2 separate regions of the Homo sapiens genome follow, and region 1 is linked to region 2. Evidence: promoter capture Hi-C in human tissues and cell types (Jung and others, 2019). All regions are on one chromosome and are shown on one strand. Each heading gives the region's core, a stretch centred on a gene start or on the middle of the fragment in contact. The rest is flanking DNA. Distances are from core to core; before and after follow the strand shown.

What was found. Contacts are between HindIII fragments. The study calls those that stand out against the background at their distance.
Region 1: a contact is called between a fragment that was not itself captured here and the fragment with the promoter of FBXL3 in region 2, in 1 of the 25 tissues and cell types used here (H1 embryonic stem cells).

What each region holds. Positions count from the first base shown.
Region 1 is chr13:77,586,477-77,590,870 of GRCh38, forward strand. SCEL (sciellin) reads left to right here. Exons shown (of 33, transcript NM_144777.3): 10 at 2,668-2,748. Among named protein-coding and RNA genes, the nearest start is that of SCEL-AS1, 18 kb to the right of the region's middle. The HindIII fragment of the contact is 3,596 bases long and covers 1,080-4,394 here.
Region 2 is chr13:77,025,338-77,030,304 of GRCh38, forward strand. FBXL3 (F-box and leucine rich repeat protein 3) reads right to left here and starts at 1,822. Exons shown (of 5, transcript NM_012158.4): 1 at 1,490-1,822. RefSeq lists silencers at 1,363-1,422, 1,443-1,722, 1,893-1,942. The HindIII fragment of the contact is 16,155 bases long and covers 824-4,967 here.

The sequences.
Region 1 (4,394 bases), core at 1,628-4,127, 560 kb after region 2:
CATTTCCCTCCATGCCCATCTCAAACTCCACAGCCCCCATTGTAACCCCTTCCTTGAAGACCCCTTCCACTCCCTTGCCATCATTCTCTTTGTTGCACTCACTTGGCTGAATTGTAAACGTGGCTAATGGTAAATCCAACTCTCAGTCTATTCTGTTCCTCCTCCCCAACCAGTTGAATATGGCAAGAGGAAACAATGCCAAATAACCTGATTTTAAGCCCATGAGTACTAACCTCAACTGAGCCATTGGTATGGCCCAAGGATCCTTCAAGAGACAGCACAGCATTTGGAGGGTTTATGCAGCCAGACTTTCCCTTTCAGATTCCCAGCTCTGCCCCTTATGAGCTGCATCATCATGAGATATTTATCTTTATGTTCTGTGCTTCAGTGTTTTAATCTGTAAAATGGGAAGAAGAATAATACTTATGTCTGGGATTGCAGTGAGGATTTCATTAGTTAATATATGTAAAGTGCTTAGAAAAGTTTCTGGCACATAATGACCCCATATAATAGTACATCATCATCATCACCATCTTACTACGTTTCCTGGGTCCACTTACTCTTCTGCTTGCCTAGAAAACCATTTCACACATTTTCTCCGCCTCTTTCTTTCTCACACAGTCCTAATCCCTACTCAACCTCCTCACTTTGAATCAATGATCTTGATTGTTATTTTACTGAGAAAATAGAAGTAAACAAAAGAGAACCTTCCTCACTCTGAGTCAATGAACGTACCCCAGCTATACTCATCTAGTTCTTTCCCTCTTGCTGCTGTGAATGAGCCCTCTGTACTTCCATCTAAGATCAACCACCACCCTGTGCCTTAGGTCCCATCAATTCTCAAAGTCATCTGTCTAGTGATTTCCCCCTCTCTCTCCTGCATCAATGATTCACTGGATCATTCCCATCATCATACCTACATGCTGTAGTAACCTTCCTCGATCCATCAGCCTCGAAGTAGCTACCCATTTCTGTCTTCCTACTTTACTGCCAAACTGCCTCAATGCCTCTATCTCCTTGCTTCCCCATTTTTTCCTAAATCCACTCGTATGATTTTTTTTTCTTTTCCCACCATCGTTCCATCAAAACTGCTCTTATCAGGGTGACCAAAGACCACTCTGTTGGCCAAACCATGGTAATTTCCCAGTCCTTGTTTTTATTTGATTAACAGTAGCATCTGAAATGGCCAAGTACTCTTTCCTTGAAACTTTTCTCGCTTGGCTTCTGGGATGCCACGCCCTTCTATTACTCTTGTTTCCTTCTTGGCCACTCCTCCTGATTCTTTTGCTGTTTTCATCTCATATTCTTGACCTCTAAATATTGCAGGGCCTGAAGGTCCAACCCCTGGCCCTCTTTTTGTCTCTACTTACACTGACTCCCTTAGTGATCTCTGCCAGTTTAAAGCATTAAATACCATCTCTAAGCTAATGATGGCTGTATTTATATGCTTTTTCTCCAGATAGCCTCATGGCTTACTCTATTACTTCCTGCAGGTCTTGGTTCAAATTTCACCTGACAGAGAGACCTTCCCAGTCCATTCTAAATAAAATAATCTTCCCATTCCATCAGTCTATATCTCCTTATTCTGTTTTATTATTATTATTATTTGCACAGCACTTTTCTTCTTCTGACATATATTTATTTGTATATTGAAAGCCTTTGAGAACAAGGACATTACCCAGCTCACAGAGAGCCTTCCTTGCACATAGAAAGCTACCAATAAATGTTTGTTGAGTAAAAACACAATCTCATTCAGTCCTGACAATACCCCAACAATCCTATTAGAAAGATTATTACAGATGAAGAAACAGAATCAAGTTAACCTGTTACCACACAGCTGGCAATTCAGGCAGCCTGACTCTAGCCCACATGCCTATCTACCATTGCTACAGAAGCCAGAAGGGTACACAGGATCAGAGGGTTCTTTTACCAGGTACAGAGTTTATGTTGAGGACAAATAGAGAACTGCTGGGGTGGTAGTGGTGGGGAACACAGGGGAGTGACATACTCTTAGTAAGGTGCTGACTCCATCCAAAATGTGCACATAATTGCCCATCTCCAGTTCCTACCTCATTAAGTCCTGCCAACTCAGAGACTGCTGTGGTGCTTCATTGGAAAGTTTAGGCTGACGGTAGATTGTATATATGCTTTGTCAGCATCAAAGTGGCCTGTGCTGACAATATTTAAGTCAGATTTAGTTAAGAGCTTCAAATCAATGCTACCTTGAGGTCTCTGAAATTAAAGCCTTTTCTTGCTGTTTCCATAGCAGCCTGATAGTTGACATAATCCCCAAAGAAGCTTATATATTAATACCCAAGGACCATTTACAGTTCTCATGCACTGCTGACCTGAAATGCCATGACTAGAGCTAGATATACTAGCAAAATATTGAGTTATTTAAAGAACATAGTATAGTCCAAACTATAGTGAAAGAGGATTGGGTTTTCAAGAACCTGATTAAATAAACTTTAAAAATACACATATTTTCAATATTTGACTTCTTTAAAGTTTAGTGCTCCATGGATTCTGACCTTTCAGGTACCTCACACATGGGGGTTGTAAGATGCAAAGGATATTTTTATGTAGGCAATAAATGCATTCAGTTAATAGATGCTAAAATTTACCATGTTTCCATGGTGAAATGAACTGCTGTTTTCTGTTTTAAAGGGAACCAGGTGTTCACCCTCCAATACCTCCAAAGCCCAGTTCTCCTGTTTCTTCTCCTAACCAGCTGAGACAGGATAATAGGTAAGACCTAGTACTCCAGAATTTCTTGACAAAATGAAGTTCAAGGGAAATGAAAGTAAATGGACTGTGACCCGCTGTGGGCAAAGCATGAATGTTTTGTGTGCACATTCCCTAAAGAAGCGCCTGTAGAACTTTTTCTAATTTTATTTCCCAACACATATGTTTATTTATGTTTGTCTTTGAATACTAATGGCTAACTTGTCTTAAGAAAATATGCCTTCAAGATAAAAATGGAACAATATTCATGTTCAGAAAGTGTTTGTACACAGACTTTTTATATATTTGCTCCTAATATACAAATATAAATACATATATGTATTTGACATGTATCACATATAATATACATATAAACCATATTAAAAATGTATTTTTTGTTCATGTTTGTTCCAAGTTAAGTTTCCCACTAAGAGATACAGATTCTGATGAACGATGTTCTTGAAACTTTGTGTTACCACTCAAATCCTTGCTTATGTTACAAATACCTTTGAGTAGTTCTTTAATCTTTTTTTACTGAAGGGATTTGTAATTTATTTCAAAACTATCACAAATTTTGAAAGATGTTCTAATTGACTTGTCTCTGAATCAGGAAAAATAGACTTGCTTCTCAGCTTTGAATCTCTGTCACTCTATAATTAATACTTGGAAACAAATTCAGAGATCTGAACTCTTCCCATGTGTTACATTTAAACTGTTTAATATATCTTGAACAATTTTTCAAGATGTACACCCCACATTTCCATTATTATTGTGAGATTAAAAAATAGTAACTCAACGGAGATTGACTACATTACATCTCCTTGATTGCCTACTGTTGCTTCTTTTGTATTTTTGCTCTTCGATGGTGATTTTTTTGACACCACGTAAGACACAATTATGAAACTATTCTTTAATAAGACACAACCATAGAACTACTTTTTAGTAGACACAATTATAGAAATATTCTTCATTAAGAGAGTAACTTCAGTTACAAAGTTTTGACTGGGCAGCAGGACCATGTAGCAATAGGTGTTAAAACTCCAGGTTTGAATTTCTGTTCAGTGAAACTGCACAGGATCTTTGAAATTTTGTCCATAGGATGAGAGCATAATTTTTTAAATTGAGTCAAGAGAATATTTCTTCACTGAACTAATTAAAAATATAGATCAGATTTATAACTTTTTGTTTGTATGATGGTTATAATGATCTCTTAAAAATATCTTCTCAAGCTTTTTAATCTTACATTATTTTTCCTCTAACTCTTCTAGTATTGAGCAATTAAATCCCAATTTGAATAGAATTGTTTTAAGGGGCTAAAATTAATTGGCCTTAGTACCACCGATATTCTAATCTAAAATCAGCATCACTAGAGCTACAAGCTTGTTTAAATTTAAAGGAAGCTAAATTTCACAGGAACTTACTACTCAAATTTCTTTATTCTACCAATGATCTAAAAAATAAAATTGGGACAACTTGCATGTTTTTTTAAAGTCCTGACTACTTTAATCACAGCAAGATGATTTTAATGAAAGAATATGAAATGGAAGTGTTTCCTATGTAATTAACACATGTCCTCAGGAGTACAAAAAATAGTCGAATATAGCTTCTTGAGAACAAGTAGGAATGTATAAGTAGGTCAACCAGATACTTTAAAAAAGAGTAGAGAAAAG
Region 2 (4,967 bases), core at 572-3,071:
TATGACTACAAACTGCTAAATAGCAAACTACTGAGGAAAGACCACAGACTAGCTGAGCAGCACAAGGAGTTAGTGAACTAACTCTATGTTCCATAAACTTTCCAGGTGGGCGCGGTGGGCCACGCCTGTAATCCCAGCACTTTGGGAGGACAAGGCGGGCGGATCGCTTGAGCTCAGTAGTTTGAGACCAGCCTGGGCAACACGATGAAACCTGTCTCTACAAAAATTAGCTGGGCATGGTGGCCCATGCCTGTAGTCTCAGCTACTAGGGAGCCTGGGGTGGGAGGATCGCTAGAGCCGAGATCGCGCCACTGCACTCCAGCCTGGGTGACAAAGTGAGTCCTTGTCTCAAAAAAAAAAAAAAAAAAAAAAAAACTTTGAAAGAAGCAACTTCATTAGGTGAAGACCGGAAGTGAACAGCTAGCCGTGTGCATCGTTGTATTAGGCACTTTTACACTGGGCATGCAATAATTTTAAATGCTCATTTGTAGTTAACTCTAAAAAGCCTATTTTGGCATCACAGTTCCTTTCTGTTCTGCTTTTACTAATATCAAACTAATATGCATTCTTTGGCTGAACTACAAGAATAAAACACTATAAAGAGGTTAACTCACAACTAAATGCTTAGAGAGCGCACAGTGGCGAAAATCTGTCTACAGGTCATATAGATAGATAGATAACTGATAGTTGATGGTATTTTTATAAATATTTCAGAGATAACAGAAACTAAGTTACTTTTTTTTCAAGTTAGAAAAGGAGGATTCTAATTAAAAAATCTGGGTCACTCAACTGGATATCATTAGCAACGACAAAATAAAAATGATCTCTCTCACCTCTCAGCTTGGAGATACAGACCATTTACTGGGCTGCTTCCTGACCCCTGTCTGCAACCCCACCTAAAGGACTGCCCACGCCAAAGGCAGACGCGAATCCGCTCAACACAAGTTGACCAAGTTTTTCGCCTGGCTAAGCGGCAGGGGCGTCCCCTCCTCCCTGCGCCACCTCCCCACCGACTGGCTTCCCCTGACATTTCTCATGCGCCCCACCCTGGGCAGTTTGCTTTGACATTTCAGTGCCTCATTGCTCAAGCTACCAGCACGGGCGTAGCCGACGCCGGGAGAGCCCACAGAGTGCGAGCTCCATGGTGCCTGTCACCAGCCCCCGCCAAGGGTCATAAAGCCTGGCAGGAGCCGCGGCGAACCCGGGAGCGGCGGCGTCGCGGGCAGGCTGCAGGCGGCCGCCGCACACGCACCACGCCTTGTTGACATGTTTGGAAGCAGGCACGGCGGGGAAACGCCCCCAAGCAAGCTCCAAGGTCTGGGTGCCGCGCCCCGCGCCCCGCCCGGCACTCCTGAGGAGCGGCCCGCGCGCGCCCCGGCCCCCGCGCCCCCCCCCACCCCACCCCACCCCGGCCCGCCCACAGACGGTCCGCGGTCCCTCCCCGGCTCCGCCGTCGCAGCGGGGCTCGGCCCTGCCCCTCCGCCGTTACCTGCTGCCGGGGGCGGCTTCCCCCACACACCACCCCGTGCTCCGGGGACGGCGGCGGCTGCAGGTCCCGCGGCTCTCACATGAGGCGCCCCTGGCCCCCCGCTTCGCGCTCCCGCAGCCGCGGCCCCCCGCGCTCCGCCCGCATCCGAGGCGCTGGTCCCGCGGAGGGCGCCAACGCGGCTCCACCTTTGCGGCTCTGGCTGCCCAGAAAGAAGCTTTCCTTCTCAGTCCCGCGCTGTCTGTGTTCAGGGATCCCCGGCGCCGCGAGAGACTACCTCAGCGAGCGGCTGCCACCGCGTAAGCTTCCTGCACCTGGGCCACAAACAGCGAGTCTAAAATGGCGCCCAGGGCTCGCGGCCGCGCGCTTCCCTGGCGCGTCCCCGCCCAAGGGGGCGGGAAGGGGGCGGGGGGGGGGCGGAGCCCGGCGGGAGTAGGGCCGCGCCCAAGCGGGAGCGCGCGCTGCGGCCGCCCCAGTCTCCTTGCTGTGGGACGAGCCTCTGCCTTCCTGCCAGAGATGTGACTCCCGCTTGAAGGGGATTTTTTTTGTTGTTTTGAGATGGAATGTGGGAGGGCTGAAGCTAGCTATATGTGGAAGAGACTATCTGTGGCTGAAACTGGAAGGTTTAGGGAGGTGGAGCAGAAAAAAGAAAGGAAGGAGTCTCGCCGGAGCCTGCTGGGGACCGCGGCCCGCGGGTGGCCGCCCCGGATGCCTGAAACCGAGGAGTTAAATACAGTCTCCGAAGACCCGCGCATCGATGTGCATAAGTGGTGCTTAAAAGATGCCAAGGAAATGTACCAGAATAGTGAGAGTATTAACGCTGGGATTGCACATGGTTTTTGTTTTTCAAATATTTGTATTTCCCAATATTTCTAAAGTGGCTTTTATCATTAGAGTTATTACATTTTAAAAACGACATTTGCTTTATGAAATAGAGTCCTGAAATTTGTAAATAGCTTTTGAAACGCAATGGGGAAAGTAAAGGATTACAAAGCTGCTGAAAAGAAAACCTCTGGTGAATCCTTTTGTAAATCAAGGCATCTTTGTAACTGCTACCTAGTTGACTTGTTTTAAAGTTTGGATTTTTTGATACTGCGTTTTCTTACAGTTAGAAACATTCTTAGGTGCAATATCATTAAGTTGAATCATGCGCCATTCCTCTCTACACCTCCAAAAAAAAAGAGAGAAAGTAGTTTTCCATTCAAAGATGTCTTAGAACACTCAGACCCATGTATAAGACACTGAAAAGCAGTGGTGCCCAGGGAGCTCTCCGTTCTTCCCGTTTTCTCAAGAAATTGAGCTAGGAAGCCATGTATAAAGTTACGTCGAAGTTCAGTGTGAGGCCAGGAGTGGTACAGGCTTATGTCTGTAATCCCAACATTTTGGGAAGCCAAGGCAGAAGGGTTGCTTGTGGTCAAGAATTGGAGACCAGCCTGCGCAATATGTCCAGACTCTTGTCTCTACAAAAAAATAGAAGAGTAATAATTTTAAAAAATCAGACGAGCTTGGTGTAATCCCGGCTACTACTCAGGAGGCTGAATCGAGAGGATGGCTGGAGCCCAGGAGTAGGAGGTTACAGTGACCTATGATGTCACCACTGCACTTCAGTCTGGGTGAGAGAGTGAGACTGTTTCTATAATAAAATGAATTCAATGTGGGGAAATGCCAGTGTTGTTTGTTCGGTGTTTTTTAAGGGCCTGTCAGCTGTCAGATCACTGAATCAAACTGTACAAAGCCTCTAGTAGCATAAGAGTGTGGATTTGCCTGAGCTGCAACATTTGTTTAGGTCCCTCAGTGACTGGATGATGAGGAACAATAGGAAGTTCTAAGAAGGACAATGATAATTATTAAGGAAAAACAAATAAGTCAAATACAGGCCCATTTATTTAAAGTTGGGTGAACAGTATAAATGATCAGCAAAATACATTAAACCAATTCAGTAAACATGATGAGCATAGGTTGCATTACGTTAATATTGTATCACATTACGGTTATATCACATTCCAATCATAGTTCTTTTTTTTCTTTTTTCGCCATTATGATCTATTCTCCTCCTAAACAAGACAAGGACCTTGGCACACTTGACCTATTGAATACCCCTTTTCTTCCCTGTTATTGGCAAATATTTTATTTCACCTCATTTTTTTTGAAAAAAAACGTTTATTTTTTAATCAGTCAGTACTTATTTACATTTATCAATTGTATCATCAAGATCAGTGGCATGGTAGGTGGGAGAAAGGATGAGTGTGGAGCACATTGATCCAACTGGGAAAAATAATTTATTACTGACCCTGTTTGGAATTGCCAATGCATGTGGTAATAAAAAGCAGATGAACAATTAGTCTCTTTATTATTGTTTTAAATTATCCACAGACAATGTACCCCCTCCACCACGTAGAATGGTGTAGACTATTCCCACACCACCCCAGCCTTGGTACACCAATGATCAGGATAGATTAGATTATGTTGCAGTAGTTCCTTAAATACCATCTTGTAATTCCTCGTTTTTGATGACCTTTACAGTTTTTAGGAGTACTGCTTTAGTATTTTTGTAGAACGTCCCTCAATTGGGGTTTGTCTTAGGTTTTTTTCTTATAATTACATGGGGACTATGGATGTTTTAGAAGGAAAACTACAGAGGTATAAAGTACCATTCTCATCACATCATATCAAGGGTACATCTATTAATACGACTTATCCTTGTTGATGTCAACATTAATCAGAGGTTGAGATCAAGTTATTCTACTTAAAGTTACCCTTTTCCCTCTCTTTTTGTACTGGAAGAAAGTCACTATGTGCAGCCAACACTGAAGAATGTGGATTTACCTGAACTGCAACATTTCCTTGAGAGGGGAATGTCTATTTAAATTATTAAAACTTTTCTGTCTTGGGAGGTGTATCTACATATCTCTTAATTGTATATGTTTACTTTTCTGTCTGTAATTTCTGTAGATCTGTCTTCAAGTCACTAATTTAGTCTATTTAGTCTTTGCTAAGACTACCTTTGCCTGCGTTTTTCGTTTCTAAAAGTTTTATTTGGTTCTTTTTCATATCTACCTGATCTTTCTTGATACTCTTTTCACTTTGTAATTTCTTTTTTTCTTAAATTGTTTTAATCCTATGAAATAATTGGGGGTCTAATCATGATATGTGTCAATGTTTGTTCATGGTGGGTTGTTCCTCATGTATTTTATAATTTTGGATTGTGAGTTCATCTTCCGTACAACTTTAGCTGCAGGAATTTTGTGCAACAGGCAGAAGCTGGAAGGGGAGGAGATTGTTAGTGAGTGCTGGAAAGACAATAAGGAATTGTTAATGGAGTCCAGAGAAATCAGGATATCTTTAGATATCTTTCATATAATAATGGCAAGCCCAGGGAAACATTTGTCTATGGCAACATGGAAAGTAGAGAAATGCATTTATTTAATTGTTGGACTTGGCTAAAGAAATTTCCAAGCAGGCTGGCTGCAGTGGTTCACGC